Linked DNA regions of Homo sapiens: regions 1 and 2 are each linked to region 3. Evidence: promoter capture Hi-C in human tissues and cell types (Jung and others, 2019). All regions are on one chromosome and are shown on one strand. The core of a region is centred on a gene start or on the middle of the fragment in contact, and the rest is flanking DNA. Distances in the headings are between cores, read along the strand shown. Region 1 overlaps CFAP263 (cilia and flagella associated protein 263). Region 2 overlaps RSPRY1 (ring finger and SPRY domain containing 1). Region 3 holds the start of KATNB1 (katanin regulatory subunit B1).

Evidence for each region. The method cuts DNA at HindIII sites, captures the fragments that hold promoters and counts their contacts. A contact is called where the count stands out against the background at its distance.
Region 1: a fragment that was not itself captured here is called in contact with the fragment with the promoter of KATNB1 in region 3 in 1 of the 25 tissues and cell types used here (lymphoblastoid cells).
Region 2: a contact is called between a fragment that was not itself captured here and the fragment with the promoter of KATNB1 in region 3, in 1 of the 25 tissues and cell types used here (bladder).

Annotation. Positions count from the first base shown.
Region 1 is chr16:58,255,618-58,260,287 of GRCh38, forward strand. CFAP263 (cilia and flagella associated protein 263) reads left to right here. Exons shown (of 9, transcript NM_014157.4): 4 at 2,751-2,906; 5 at 4,237-4,317. Among named protein-coding and RNA genes, the nearest start is that of CFAP263, 8.0 kb to the left of the region's middle. RefSeq lists a silencer at 2,256-2,405. The HindIII fragment of the contact is 5,304 bases long and covers 1-4,670 here.
Region 2 is chr16:57,189,142-57,193,924 of GRCh38, forward strand. The region is part of intron 1 of RSPRY1 (ring finger and SPRY domain containing 1); the gene reads left to right. Among named protein-coding and RNA genes, the nearest start is that of RSPRY1, 5.2 kb to the left of the region's middle. The HindIII fragment of the contact is 4,068 bases long and covers 6-4,073 here.
Region 3 is chr16:57,732,298-57,737,081 of GRCh38, forward strand. It overlaps KATNB1 (katanin regulatory subunit B1), which reads left to right and starts at 3,473. Exons shown (of 20, transcript NM_005886.3): 1 at 3,473-3,558; 2 at 4,681-4,784. LOC107984852 (a long non-coding RNA gene) reads right to left here and starts at 4,347. Exons shown (of 2, transcript XR_001752221.3): 1 at 4,139-4,347; 2 at 1,532-3,310. RefSeq lists enhancers at 1,324-2,301, 2,931-3,040, 3,020-3,314, 3,061-3,230, 4,599-4,668 and a silencer at 3,541-3,780. The HindIII fragment of the contact is 17,781 bases long and covers 1-4,784 here.

The DNA.
Region 1 (4,670 bases), core at 1,006-3,505, 520 kb after region 3:
GGAGTGCAGTGGTGCGATCCCAGCTCCGCCTCCCAGGTTCACACCATTCTCCTGCCTCAGCCTCCCGAGTAGCTGGGACTACAGGCTCCTGCCGCCACCACACCCAGCTAATTTTTTTTGTATTTTTAGTAGAGACGGGGTTTCACCATGTTAGCCAGGATGGTCTCGATCTCCTGACCTTGTGATCCACTCGCCTCAGCCTCCCAAAGTGCTGGGATTACAGGCGTGAGCCATCGCGCCCGGCCCCTAGGTCAGCATTTCTATACGGCACACGTGCCCATGGTTTGTGCCCTGTTACAGAACAATATAGTAGTGTCTCTTAGTGAGTCCAATACAGTCAGTTTCCTCCAGAGAAGAAACATCACTGTTAATTCGGTTGCCCACAGGATGACGTTGTTGGCTTGCATTTGAGAGCCATGTTGTATGAAAAGTAGATACTTCTGTTCTATTTCTAAAGTTTTCTATTTTTCTGTTTCTAAATGTGGGCATTCGCAGAATCACACTCGTCTCAAGAGGGACCAGTCAGTAGACTCATGTCTCCCATTGATGCAACCGTCTGTATCACATCAACTGATCCTGCTCTCCCACCCCTCCTCTCTCTCTTTCTAAACATGCATTGTTGAATTCTAGCAAGTTAAAGGAGCTTGGGATGTGGTAGCATTATCCTGACCCGCTAGGTTGTGCAATGTGAGCATCAAGTGCAGAGATCAGAGATCAGTATGGGCTAGAGTGGTCAAAAAGAATTTGTTGAGGAGGTAGGGCTTAAAAGAGACTTGGCATGATCTTGAAGAATGATGGCATCTGTTTAAAGCACAGGGAAAGAAGGGCACCCCAGGTAAGGAGAATGACATGGGCAAGGCAGTGGAGGTGGGCACAAGCATGACATTGAGGAGGCCGGTGTGATTAGAGAAGACGCTACTTTGGAGGCTGCTTTAGGAAGTCAGGTTGAGTAAGGCAATGATTTCTTGACAGCCATGCCAAGGAGTTTATCTTTGATGTCTTAGAAAGCTGGACCCCACTGAGGATACTTGAGTAGGAGAGCAATGTGTTGAAAGTAGCATTTCAGGTGGGTTGATGTTCTACCATGTGGAGATGATGGGGCTGGAGCCTGAGGCCGGCCAGTGAAAATGCTTTTGCCTCTTGGTGTTCAGAAAAAAAGTCTGAACTAGGATGATTTGCAGTCTGGCTAGAGATACCATTCCATTTTATTTTTTATAGTAATATGTGTGTGTGTGTGTTCTTATTTCAAGGCAATCTATGTTGTAGAATGTTGAAAAATACAGTTAAGCTAAAAGAACATTTGAAAACATTCACAATTTACCACTCAGAGGTAATTTCTGTTGACTTTCCATTTACCTCCTACAGTTTAGATAATTTTCTATGCATATATGAATTTCTTTTTTTTTTTTTTTTTTTTTGAGACGGAGTCTCGCTCTGTCGCCCAGGCTGGAGTGCAGTGGCGGGATCTCGGCTCACTGCAAGCTCTGCCTCCCGGGTTCACGCCATTCTCCTGCCTCAGCCTCCCAAGTAGCTGGGACTACAGGCGCCCGCCACTACGCCCGGCTAATTTTTTGTATTTTTAGTAGAGACGGGGTTTCACCGTTTTAGCCGGGATGGTCTCGATCTCCTGACCTCGTGATCCGCCCGCCTCGGCCTCCCAAAGTGCTGGGATTACAGGCGTGAGCCACCGCGCCCAGCCTGCATATATGAATTTCTTCCAAAAATAGTATCATGTTATTTTGTAAACTGTATTTTTCACTTAACAACATCTCTTTACGTCAATACATATTTTCATTTTATAACATCTTTTTTTTTATTTTTAAGAGATGGGGCCTCACTGCGTTGCTCAGGCTGGAGTGCAGTGGCTATTCGCGGTCGCAATCATAGCACACTACAGCCTCGAACTTCTGGCCTCCAACAATCCTCTTGCCTCAGCCTCCTGAGCAGCTGGGACTACAGGCACCATACCTGACTTTATAATATCTTCTTTATTTTTTTTTCCATTTTTCCCCCCAATACTCAGGCTTGGAAATATAAAGTCTTTTTTTTTTTTTAATAACAGAAATATAATAAGAGTGCCTATTTATTTCCCCACTAATCCATCTCTCTAGATGTAACTGTCATTCATGTTTTGATGTATATCCTTCCAGATATTTTTAATGGATAAATAATTTCAAATATGGAAATACATATTTAGATAGATAGCTTGGCCAGGCGCGGTGGCTCATGCCTGTAGTCCCAGCACTTTGGGAGGCCGAGGTGGGCGGATCACCTGAGGTCAGGAGTTCAAGACCAGCTGGGCCAACTTGGTGAAACCCCTTCTCTACTAAAAATACACAAATTAGCCAGGCGTGGTGGCAGGTGCCTGTAGTCCCAGCTACTCAGGAGGCTGAGGCAGGAGAATTGCTCGAACCGAGGAGGCGGAGGTTGCAATGAGGTGAGATTGTATCACTGCACTCCAGCCTGGGCAATAGAGCGAGACTCTGTCTCAAAAAAAAAAAAAAAAAAAAGATAGATACCTGACACCTGTTTTTGTTTGCTCTCTTTTTATGGATTCTATTTTTTTGAAGAATGCTTTTAACTAATAACATTGATATAGTCAAGTTTGTATCTTAAGGATATGTTCCTAAGACTAAGAAGAAACATAATATTTTGGGACACAAAGAGGCCTGGGAACTTAGGTTTTCTTAGAAGACACATCCTTGAAGATTGCTGGAAACGTTCTTCTCTCTTTGTGCTGACTCCCCCAGGCGATCATTGAGGAGGCTGAAATTCGATGGAGTGAAGTTTCGAGAGAAGTGCATGAGTTTGAAAAAGATATTCTAAAAGCCATATCCAAGAAGAAAGGGAGTATTTTGGCCACTCAGAAAGTGATGAAATACATTGAGGACATGAACCGCCGGAGGGTAAGTTGGCAGACAGAGCTTAGAAAGGGAAAAAACATTCTTACAGGGATGTTATGGAAATCATCCATGTGAAGCAGCCTAGCTCCCTTTGGTCCACCATAAATGTTGCCCACATATGCGGATTTTCTTTGCATCCCTGAAAGTGTATGTGTATATGCATGTTTTAAAATGTATGTTTATGGCTAGGTGCAGTGGCTCATGCCTGTAATCCCAGCACTTTGGGAGGCTGAGGCGGGTGGATCATCTGAGCTGGAGGACCAGCCTGGCCAACATGGTGAAACCCCATCTCTACTAAAAATACAAAAATTAGCTGGGCGAGGTGTTTGTGCCTGTAATCCCAGCTGCTCGGGAGGCTGAGGCAGGAGAATCGCTTGAGCCTGGGAGGCGGAGATTGCGGTGAGCCAAGATCATGCCACTGCACTCCAGCCTGGGCAGCAGAGCAAGACTCCGTCTCAGAAAAAATAAATAAATAAATAAATAAATAAATAAATAAATAAATAAATAAATGCGTGTTTATCAAGGCTAACACCAGCCAGGCAGGAGGTATACTAACAGTACCTCAGATTGATCTCTGTTTTTTGTTTTGTTATTTGTTTCAAGATCTGATATATTTTCTTGAGAAAGGTATGAGACTGGTCTGGTCCAGCCTATCTAGAGAGGTGACTGTGGAGTAGGACAGGTAAATCTCTTTTTCAAAATTTTAAAAAAACCTTTAAAAAAATTGTTATAGAGATGAGGTCTCACTGTGTTGCCCAGGCTGGTCTTGAACTCTTGGGCTCCAACAGTCCACCCACCTTGGCCTCCCAAAGTGCTGGGATTACTGGGTGAATCTCAAGCTCTTTGAGATCCTTTGTTATCAGGAGATGGACCTTGGGCTGTTATGAGAAAAAAGGAGAATTTGGGGGGTAACCTTCATTTCCAGAGATTTTTACAACACGTCAAGCTTTAGATCCTGGAGACAAGGTAGGGTTATTACTAATCCTAATATGTTAACAGTAATAAAAATTATGTAAACTACCGTGGGAATACAAGACCAAAAAATCGTAAGATCATTTTGTCAGGAAAGGCCCCTACAGTAGCATACACCCAAATAATCTTGAATTTGAAAGCAATATAAAATTTGCATGGTGCAAAACCAGTGTCCTCTGCTTCTTGGTCATGAAATGTCATACCAGCCCCAGCTTGAGTAGAAGTAAAAGGACCTAAAATAAGTGACAGAATGTTAGGGCTCAAGGTTTGGTTTGCAGCCCCAGAACCATCCACTTTTCAAACCAATGGGAAAAAGGAGAGAAATGGATTAAATGCATTAAAATATGCCTTTATGTTTTAGGATAATATGAAGGAGAAATTACGTTTGAAAAATGTTTCTCTCAAAGTTCAGAGGAAAAAAATGCTTTTACAATTGAGGCAGGTATGTGGTCCTTTTTCTCTCTCTCTCTGTTTCTTTTTAAGGTTACTGTGGTAGGCTGAATAAGGTTCCCACCCCCACCCCAAAATATCCATATCCTAAACCCTGGAATCTGTGAATACATTAACTTACATGGCAAAAAGGATTTTGCAGATGTGATTAATTTAGGATCTTGAGATGGGGAGATGGTCTTGAATTACCTGGGTGGGCCCTATATAATCTCCCTCCTTATCAGTGGGAAGCAGGAGGGTGGGAGAAGCTATGATAACAGAAGCAGAGATCAGAGTGATGAGCTTTCATGAGAGGGAGAAGGGGTCAGGAGTCAAGGACTGCAGACAGCCTCTAGAAGCTGGAAA
Region 2 (4,783 bases), core at 790-3,289, 540 kb before region 3:
CACCACCCGTGCCTGGCTAATTTTTGTATTTTTAGTAGAGAGGGAGTTTCACCGTGTTGGTCAGGCTGGTCTTGAACTCCTGAGCTCAAAGTGATCTGCCCACCTTGGCCTCCCAAAGTGCTGGGATTACAGGCATGAGCTACTGTGCCTGGCCCTCAGTGATTATTTTCAAGTTATTGATTATAGGAGGTATACCAGCATACTCTATGTGGGCTTCTGCTTTTGTCAGCAAAATAACTTTTCATTTAGTAAGTATCAAAGGGAAATAAAAACTTAGCATTTTGTATAATAGTGTGTTAATCTGTAGTGAATCAGGTAAAAACAACAAATCTGAGTTATGTAGCACTGTGGGGCCTGGAGGCTAAAAAAAAAAAAAGTGTGTTTTGTCAAGAGTTTAACAAACAATTATTCTGTATTTCTTTTTTTCTGTTTTTTCTTTTTCTTTTCTTTTCTTTTTTTTTTTTTTTTGAGACAGGGTCTCATGCTGTCTCTCAGGCTAGAGTGCAGTGGTGCAATCACGGCTCACAGAAGCCTCTACCTCCCAGGCTCAGGTGATCCTCCCACATCAGCCTCCCAAGTAACTGGGACTACAGGTGCGAGCCACCACACCTGGCCAATTTTTGCACTTTTTTTAAGACAGGGTTACGCCATGTTGCCCAGGCTGGTCTCAAACTCCTGGGCACAAGCCATCCACCCACCTTGGCCTCCCAAGGTGCTAGGATTACAGGTGTGAGCCACCATGCCTGGCCTCGTGAGCTTAATTTAGTCTGTTGAGAATTGTATATGCTTTCCTTAACAATGAAGTAATTTGTTCTAATGAAGTGGGAAATCCCTTTGCATCTTTTTAAATACAGCTTTCTTTCACACTCTATATAGTTTGGAGAAAATGTTAGGAATTCTTGAAGGTAGTAATCACTATTACACTACTTAAGATTGGAAGTTATGGCTGGGCATGGTGGCTCACACCTATAATCACAACACTTTGGGCGGCCAAGGCGGGAGGATCACTTGAGCCCAGGAGTTCAAGACCAGCCTGGGCAACATGGCAAAACCCCATCTCTACAAAAAAATACAAAAATTAGCCCAGCGTGGTGGCACATGCAGATAGTCCCAGCTACTTGGGAGGCTGAGGTGGTAGAATCTCTTGAGCCTGGGAGGTTGAAGATGCAGTGAGCCACTGCATTCCAGCCTGGGTGACAGAGCAACACCCTGTCTCAAATAAATAAATAGGAAATGTTCTGTATTTTTTAGTAGGATACTTGTAAAGTGGGGTGTGATAGTCTCAGGATTGCAAAATAAGTGGAAAGTCAGTAGTCACCACAAATGGGAAACACAGTGGAACCAGCAATCTATTTCAAAAGAATTATTTGGGGATAATAAACTATGGATTTAGCTTCTCTTCAAGCTTTTGGCATTTTCAAGGCAGTTATCATTGAATTTGGGTAGTTTTTTCCCTGATATTCAAATTAGAAAATTGAAAAGCAGAATAATCACGAAGTAGTAAATGCCGTAACTTGGGCAACAGCCTTTTGGAGGGGACTTTTACAACTTTTAGAAGTGCAAAGGAGTGAATATTTCCCTTTGGTTTATCATTCAGTAAGTCAGCTTTTGAAATCCTTTTCTTGCCAACCTTTGTGAGTAGAGAAAACATACAAATGTGTCCATTCCAAAAGGGAGTGGTTGCTGGTTAAATATGTAAAAGTAGTAACTTTAGATAAATGTGTGGTATATACAAGGTTAAATCAGGAAAAGTTATCTTATAAATAGTGGTGGCCTCTTAGAGAACATTCCGCTTTGTTTCTGAGCTTTTGAAAACTGAGAATACATTTGAAATAGTAAGGAATTTATGTACTCCTTAAATTTGTTAAGGAATGAACTCTGCACATAGCTTTCTTGTTGCTTGAAATTATAGTTTCCAGGCGTAATTTCATAGGTCCTATGTACCTCAAATAGAAGGTTTGAAATACCTTACTCAGCAAGTATATTACCTCATAGTTTAATGTTCAGTGTTAGTTTTTTCTTACCCCTCTACCTCCTGAAGAATTGTTTTCGCTCTTGTGTTCCCTTAATGCAGTGATTCTCAAGATGTGGTTTCTGCCCAGTCCCTCCACATGGGAAATATAGCACTGTTTGTTTGTTTTTTTAAGTTTTTATTGCTTCATAGTTGTTCATACTTAGGTATGCCTAAGGGCTACTTATTAATAACCTACCAAGTGAATTACTAAGGATTACTAAAACATGGTATTCATAACCTAAAACTAGAACAATATTGGAGTTTACTGTGGTCTCTTAATACTTTTTTCGCCCAGGAAGTCTGTCCTGGGAAACCTGGCACCAATACAAGCTTCTCACATGTCATATGCAGAATGGGGATTCCTGCAGTATTCAGGAAGTATGCTTAGTTTGGGGTGCATCATCTGAATTGTCTCAAAATAATGTCAGTTTTCATCATGATTCCTCTTTTTTTATTAGAATTTTTATTTAACTTCATCTTTATCAATTTAATTTATAGGTTTTTTTGTTTACTTTTCATTGTGTGGGCAGGAATATTTATACCAACAATATTTTGGCTTATAATGTAAGACATAAATGTGTTACAATGCAAAGATAGATTCTCTAGTCCCCTTTTGCTATTGCTGATTTGTATAGTCACCTAAAAACTTGCTCACACAGAGGTACTTCAGTGTTACCAAAGTTCCTTTTACACTGGAAAACTGATGGAACAAGAGGCCTCCTTCTAGTAGATGCTTTATCTGTAGTCTTTGGGTAGGGAGCTAAGTTTGTCCCTAACCCCAGCTCCCTTTGTCAGGAGCATGAGGGACCTTTTTCCGTCTTTCCTCACTGCCTGCCATATAAGCATTGGATATATAGTTATTGAATGGTGTTGTCTCAGTTTTTCAAAATGGTAAATATTTTGGAGAGACTTTATGTTACAGATTTTAGAATAAATTCACCTAAGATATTTATTGAATACATATTAGGGTCTAATAAGTATCCAAATGAGTATGCAGTATGAGTGTTTTAGACATCATTTAAAGTAGACATCATTAAGGAAAATGTTGATATTCATGCTGCTTATATATTTTATTTGCTTTTCTTAAGAGCAGAGAGTTTTCTGTAATAGAAAAATCCTTTTCCTTCAGATTTGTGTATATTTGAATAACACATGATCTCCTATTATTTGGCCTCCTGGGGGGAAAACCACAAGTACTACGGAATATTACATTTGTTTTTCTTCCCTGTACTGCAACCGTCATAAGCATTTACCTCAATTCTTCCTTAGTATTTTTTGGGAGTCCAAGGCAAATTTTTCAATCCTTAAGATTTCAGGCAGGGATTATTTACTTCCCCTTTTTTACTATTATTTGCTTCCGGAAATTCCTTACTCTATCCTAGGCCTAAATTTTATTTTTTAGTAAATTATTTGAATGCTGAAAGGATTTGTCTTTTCTCCTTTGTACCATTTTAGGTCAGGACTATATTCTGTAATTCTTTCTGACCACAGATGCACTGCTACTAGGTTAAAAAAGCTCTCAACTTTTTAGAGGAAGGTTTTTCCAGAGACTCTTTTTTTTTTTTTTTTTTTTAAGGTCTCACTCTGTCTCCTAGGCTGAAGTGCAGTGGTGCGATCATGGTTTACTGCAGCCTCGACCTCCCCAGCTCAGGCGATCCTCCCACCCCTCACTCCCACTGCCCTTCCCAGTAGCTGGACTATAGGGTCCAAGCCGCCACTCTGGCTAATTTGTGTATTTTTTGTAGAAACAGGGTTTCGCCATGTTGCCCAGGCTGGTCTCAAATTCTTGGGCTCAAGCTGTCTGCCTGCCTTGGCCTCCCAGAGTGTTGGGATTACAGGTGTGAGCCACCATGCCCTGCTCAGATAGTCTTTCAACCAGAAAAAAATACCTACTTTCAAAGGTGTGCTTTCTTAAAGATCCTCAGTGCATAAGGGAAATGTCAGAATCATCCAGTGCTTTTCCCAGACTTCTTGACAGTTACAGTTCAGGAGTTAATGGTACTCTGTGTGACCTAAACCTACGGTTAGATAGCTTTGGACATCTGGGAGGCAAGTAAAAACGCCTCATCAAGACAACCTTTCTTTTTGTGGGAAAAGTAAAATTCCAACCAAATATTTCACAATCTACCCCCTTCTTACCTTCCCCAATGAAATACCAGAGGCTTTAGAGTCTAAAGACAGAAACACTCTTGTTGAAACATCTTTAGGTAGTTTCTGTTTCAGCTGGCAAGTGTAATCTTCATGCATTACCAAATCAGTATTGTTGACTTGAGATTTTCCCTATTTAAACACAATCTTCAGTAAGAAGATTGTGGTCTTTGGGGTGTTCTGCAGGCTTTTTTTTTTTTTTCTTTGGAGACAGAGTCTTGCTCTGTCACCCAGGCTTGAGGGTAGTGGGATGATCTCGGCTCACTGCAACCTCCACCTTCTGGATTCAAGTGATCTTCCCACCTCAGCCTCCCAAGTAGCTGGAATTACAGGCACACGCCACTGTGCCTGGCTAATTTTTGTATTTTTTTAAGCAAATATGTTTCTAGATAATGTTCTCTATCTTGATAGGGTTTGAGTCACAGGTATATGCATTTGATAAAACTCAGCACGTTACTGTGCTTAAGATTTGCACATTTCAGCCGGGTGCGGTGGCTCACGCCTGTAATCCCAGCACTTTGGGAGGCCGAGGTGGACAGATCATTTGAGGTCAGGAGTTTGAGACCAGCCTAGCCCACATGGTGAAACCCCATCTCTACTGAAAACACAAACATTAGCTGG
Region 3 (4,784 bases), core at 2,223-4,722:
AAATAGCCTTCCTAGTGAAAGTATAAATCAGTACAACCATTTTGGAAAACTGCTTGGCATTATCTATTAAAGCTAAACTAAAGCCCAACAATTCTACTCTTAGGTTCTACTCCAATCCATCATTCATCAAGTAAGAATGATGAACAACTCAACCGAAATGTAGATAGATAGTTATCTGCTAAAAGGCATGTGCTAGAACTTTCATAGCAGCATTATTGATAATAGCACCATACTTGGAAGTTACCCAAATGCCCATCAAGAGCAGAATGGATACATAAATTGTGGTCTTCAGATATTTTGGGTTGTCTTTAACTGCTTAGGGAGAACTGCTTAGGGAGAATGCTACTGGCATCTAGTGCATACAGGCCAGGGATGCTGCTAAACATTCTACAATGCCCAGAACAGCCCCCCACAGCAAATAATTATCTAGGTCTAAATGCCAATAATGTTGAGGTTATAGAGTATATTAGTCTGTTTTCACACTGCTGATTAAGACATACTCAAGACTGGGTAATTTGTAAAGAAAAAGAGGTTTAATGGACTCACAGTTCCACACGGCTGGGGAGGCCCCACAATCATGGCAGAAGGCCAAAGGCACATCTTACATGGTGGCAGACAAGAAAGAATGAGAACCAAGCAAAAAGGAAAATCCCTTATAAAATCATCAGCTCTCGTGAGACTAATTCACTACCATGAGAACAGTATGTGGGAAACCCCTCCCATGATTCAGTTATCTCCCACTGGGTCCCTCCCACAATATGTGGGAATTATGGGAGCTACAATTCACAAGATGAGATTTGGGTGGGGATACAGCCAAACCATATCATAGAGCAATGAAAATGAATGAACTGCAACACAACTATATGGAATGATATGGTCAAACTGCCTAAGTATAATGTCAAAAGATTCAAGACACAAAAGTACATACTCTATTATTCCATTTATGGAAAGAACAAAAATAAGGAAAATTAATTGGTGATATTAGAAGTCAGGACAACCGTCACTCTTGGAGTGTGAGGGTTAGTGAATGGATGTGAGCATGGAGCCCTGGGAGGGGAGGTTCTGGTTTCTAGTCACGTTCTGCTTTTTGACCTGGGTGTGTTCGGTTTGTAAAAATTCATCAACCTTGTGCACTTACAATGTGTCCTCTGGAGTGTTTTTGACTGCTTGTTGTCATGAATCTAATCAAGCCTTTAGCCCTAACTTAAGAAATTCAAGGGAAGAAATGCATTTAAGAAGAACGTCCATCTAACAAGAACTTCAGGAAATTCAGGTAAATGATACTAAAAGGAAACATTCCTAACGTGGGACAATCTAGGTAAATGGCCTGATCTCTTCAAAAGATCGATGTCATAAAAATAAAAGTTTGGGGACAGAAATGGAAAGAACTTAAGAGTCAAGTGTGGTGAATACTGATTGGTTCTTAGTTAGAAAAAAAAAGTCCTAAAAGGTTTTTGGGATGACTGGGGACATACGAATATGGACTGGTTGTTACAGAATTAAATTTTCTTAGCAGTGGTGATAACAATGGTTATTGTAGAATAAGGGCTTTATTTTTATTTTTTGAAATGGATCTCACTCTGTCGCCCAGGCTGGAGTACAGTGGCCCCATCCCAGCTCACCGCAACCTCTGCTTCCCAGTTTCAAGTGATTCTCCTGCCTCAGCCTCCCCAGTAGCTAGGATTATAGGCACGTGCGCCACCACGCCCGGCTAATTTTTGTATTTTTTTGTAGAGACGGGGTTTCACCATGTTGGCCAGGTTGGTCTCGGACTCCTGACCTCAGGTGATCCGCCCGCCTTGGCCTCCCAAAGTGCTGGGATTGCAGGCGTGAGCCACCGCGCCTGGCCAAGGGCCTTATTTTTAAGAGATACATGCTCAGTATTTGGTGTTGGGGTGAAATGTCATATCTACAATTTTCAAATGGTTCCGAAAAGACACACAGACGAAGCAAATATGGCAAACTGTTAACAAGTACTGGAATCTACGTGGTATCATTATATTGTCTTTTAAAGTTTTCTCTGTTTAGTTTTCTTTTTATAATACAAAATTAAGGGGAACTGCAGGCTAGACAGTTTTGATCCGATGTTATTCTGCTAATCTTTTAAAGGTGTCTTGCGGTGACTCACGCCTGTAATCCCAGCACTTCGGGAGGCTGGGGCGGGTGGATCACCTAAGGTCAGGAGTTCAAGACCAGCCTGGCCAAAATGGAGAAACCCCGTCTCTACTAAAAATATAAAAACTAGCCTTAGCCCGTCGTGGTGGCGGGCGCCTGTGGTTCCAGCTACCCAGGAGGCTGAAGCAGGAGAATCTGAAGCAGAAGGCTGAAGCAGAAGGCAGAGTGGGGACTCCCCCACGCTTTGGCTTTCAGAACAAGGGTTCGAATTCTGGGGCTATTACTTTCTGACCGTGTGGTTTTCTGCAAGCATCTTAACCCGGGCCTCAGTTTCCTCATCTGTAAATGGGAACAGGAATTCCTACCTCTTATGGTTGTACTGGGCGTTATGTGAGCCCAAGGAGCCCTGACCTGCGGTGAGAGGCTGGAGGCCGAAGGGCAAGGTTCGAGGGGCTCTGGGTGCCTGGGACAACCTCTGGGCAACAGGGAGAGGCGGCTGCGGGGCCAAGTCCCTCCTAAGCGGCCACGCGAGAGGCCCTGAGTCGAGAAGGGTTACGGCGCTTCCCAGAGCCCACCCCGCCCAACGTGTCACAAATAAAGCTGGCCTTTCTCCGATTCCCTGATTGCAGCCATTCAGGGAGCAGCCCCTTGCCCACGCATCCATTAGTCGAGGCGGTGGCTGCGTGTGCAGTGCTACAGGGTTCAGCGCCTGCCTCGGCTCCGGAATCAGGCTGTTTCCTTCTAGACCTCCCATGGGGGATTCAAGCCGGCGTCCGGGTCAAAGAACAGGGACAAAGTCCTCCTGCCACGGGGGACCATCTGCAGGCAAAGTGAAGAATGAGGAGCTTCGGCAAAATGCCGACTAAGGCCTCCTTAGGTTTTGCCCCACTCCAAGATGGAAGGCCTGAGGCTTCACACTGCCCCCGAAGTTCCTTTCCCATTGGCTATCTGGGAATTGAGTTTTCCAATAATGCGGACGCTGATTGGTCAATCCAGGACGGTTGCTCAAGCCATTGGCGCAGCCGCCATTGGAGGGCGGCTCTCAAAAGTTTTCAGACACAAATTAGGTTCGAGGGAGGAAACGGAGAGGAAAGGGAAAACTTGAGACGGAGGCGGGACTAAGGAAACGGCAGCTTGCATTGGTTTATTAGAGGCCAAGGGGCGGCTCTTGAACGTTCCTTCCTCTTGATTAGTCCTATTTAGGAAAAGAGGGCGGGTACTGAGGAAAAGCGGCAGAAGCGCCTGCTTCCATTGGTCAGTCCTGGCAGGAGGCGGAGCACCCGCGGCAGCTGATTGGTGCGGGAGGCAAGGTGGGCGGGGCTCTGAGCCGGAGGTTTTGTTGTGAGGGTCGGTTGTCAAGCAGCGGCCAATCAAGGCAGGGGATGGAGGCAAGTGGGGGTCGCGCCTGGAGCGGAGCCTCGGCCTCCGGAGCCGCAGCTGCAGGTGGAGTGGGCAAGGGGACGAGGTGGCGAGGGGACGGTGGGCCCTGGGCTGGGCCGAGCCAGGCGGGGCTGGCTGGGCTTGCGGGCAGAGAGCTCTGAGCGTGGGGAGGCTAGAGCCCGTACTCCGCAAGCAGAGGGTTGGGAGGATCAGCCGTGGCCGAGGGACCTGCCCCCGCCCCCGGACGAGAGGGGTCGGGGTGGAGGCCGGAGGGGGCAAAACCAGGGAGGCCGGAAGCAGAGCTGGGGGTCTGCAGAAGGACAGGTAATGAATAGGGAGAAGAGAAGTAGGAGAATGAATGAATGGGAGACCCCGCGAGCATATGGGAAAGGGCAGTAACGGGAGTCTGGCGAGGCAGGGGCCACGTGAGGGATATCGGGAGACAGGATGTGCATAAGTGGGAGACTCAGGGGGCAGGGAGAAAAGGGGGTGTGAACGGAGGACTAGAGAGGCAGACCCGGGGACCCAGGAGAAAGGGGACGGAGGGGAGCGGGCTCATGGGAAAGAGGTGAAGTGGCTGTGGGAAGGAGGTGGGAGGCTCCATGAGGAGGCCTTTTAGAGTTGAAGAGTCATAGCCACTTACGCCCAGACTGGAGGCCTAGTTCCTAGCTCTGTCCTTGGGAATCGCAGGGAGCAGGAGCGGTTCCCTTGCCAGGAGCTGGGGAATTGGACCATCAGGGTCGTCTTCGAGATTCTTTCCAAGGAGGACTTCAGTGGCCGTCTCTGGGATGCCTTTCCTAGGCCCCTAAGCTTAGCTTCTGACTCCGCTCTCCCACATCCCACACGTCAGACAAAAACAACGACTCGCAGGAAATCTATGTGAATTGCAGACACGTGGTCTTCTCCGCCCCACTGCGGCTGCTGCACTTTAGGCAGCCAGCATCCCGGAACAGAGCTGCAGCTCATTATCCTGGCCTCTGGGAGGAGTTTCTTTTTCCTTACGTTCCAAATCACCCTACCTGAGGTGCCCCCTCTGCAGATTCCCAAACCTAATTTGCAGTGCAGCTTCTGACTCTGGTGGCTTTGGTGGGTGTCAGTCTTTATCAAGTGGTCTTGGTGATCCAGGGAGCAACAGCTCTTACCAAGCATTTTCTAACATGACGTCACCTCTTGTTTGTATTGCAGCCCTGTATTGAGCTGAGATGGCTCGAGCCTAACATTCCATGATCCAGGATCGTGACAGATGTGCACAGGCTGCTGCTGTTGCTGCTGTGGGTAATTTGGAACCA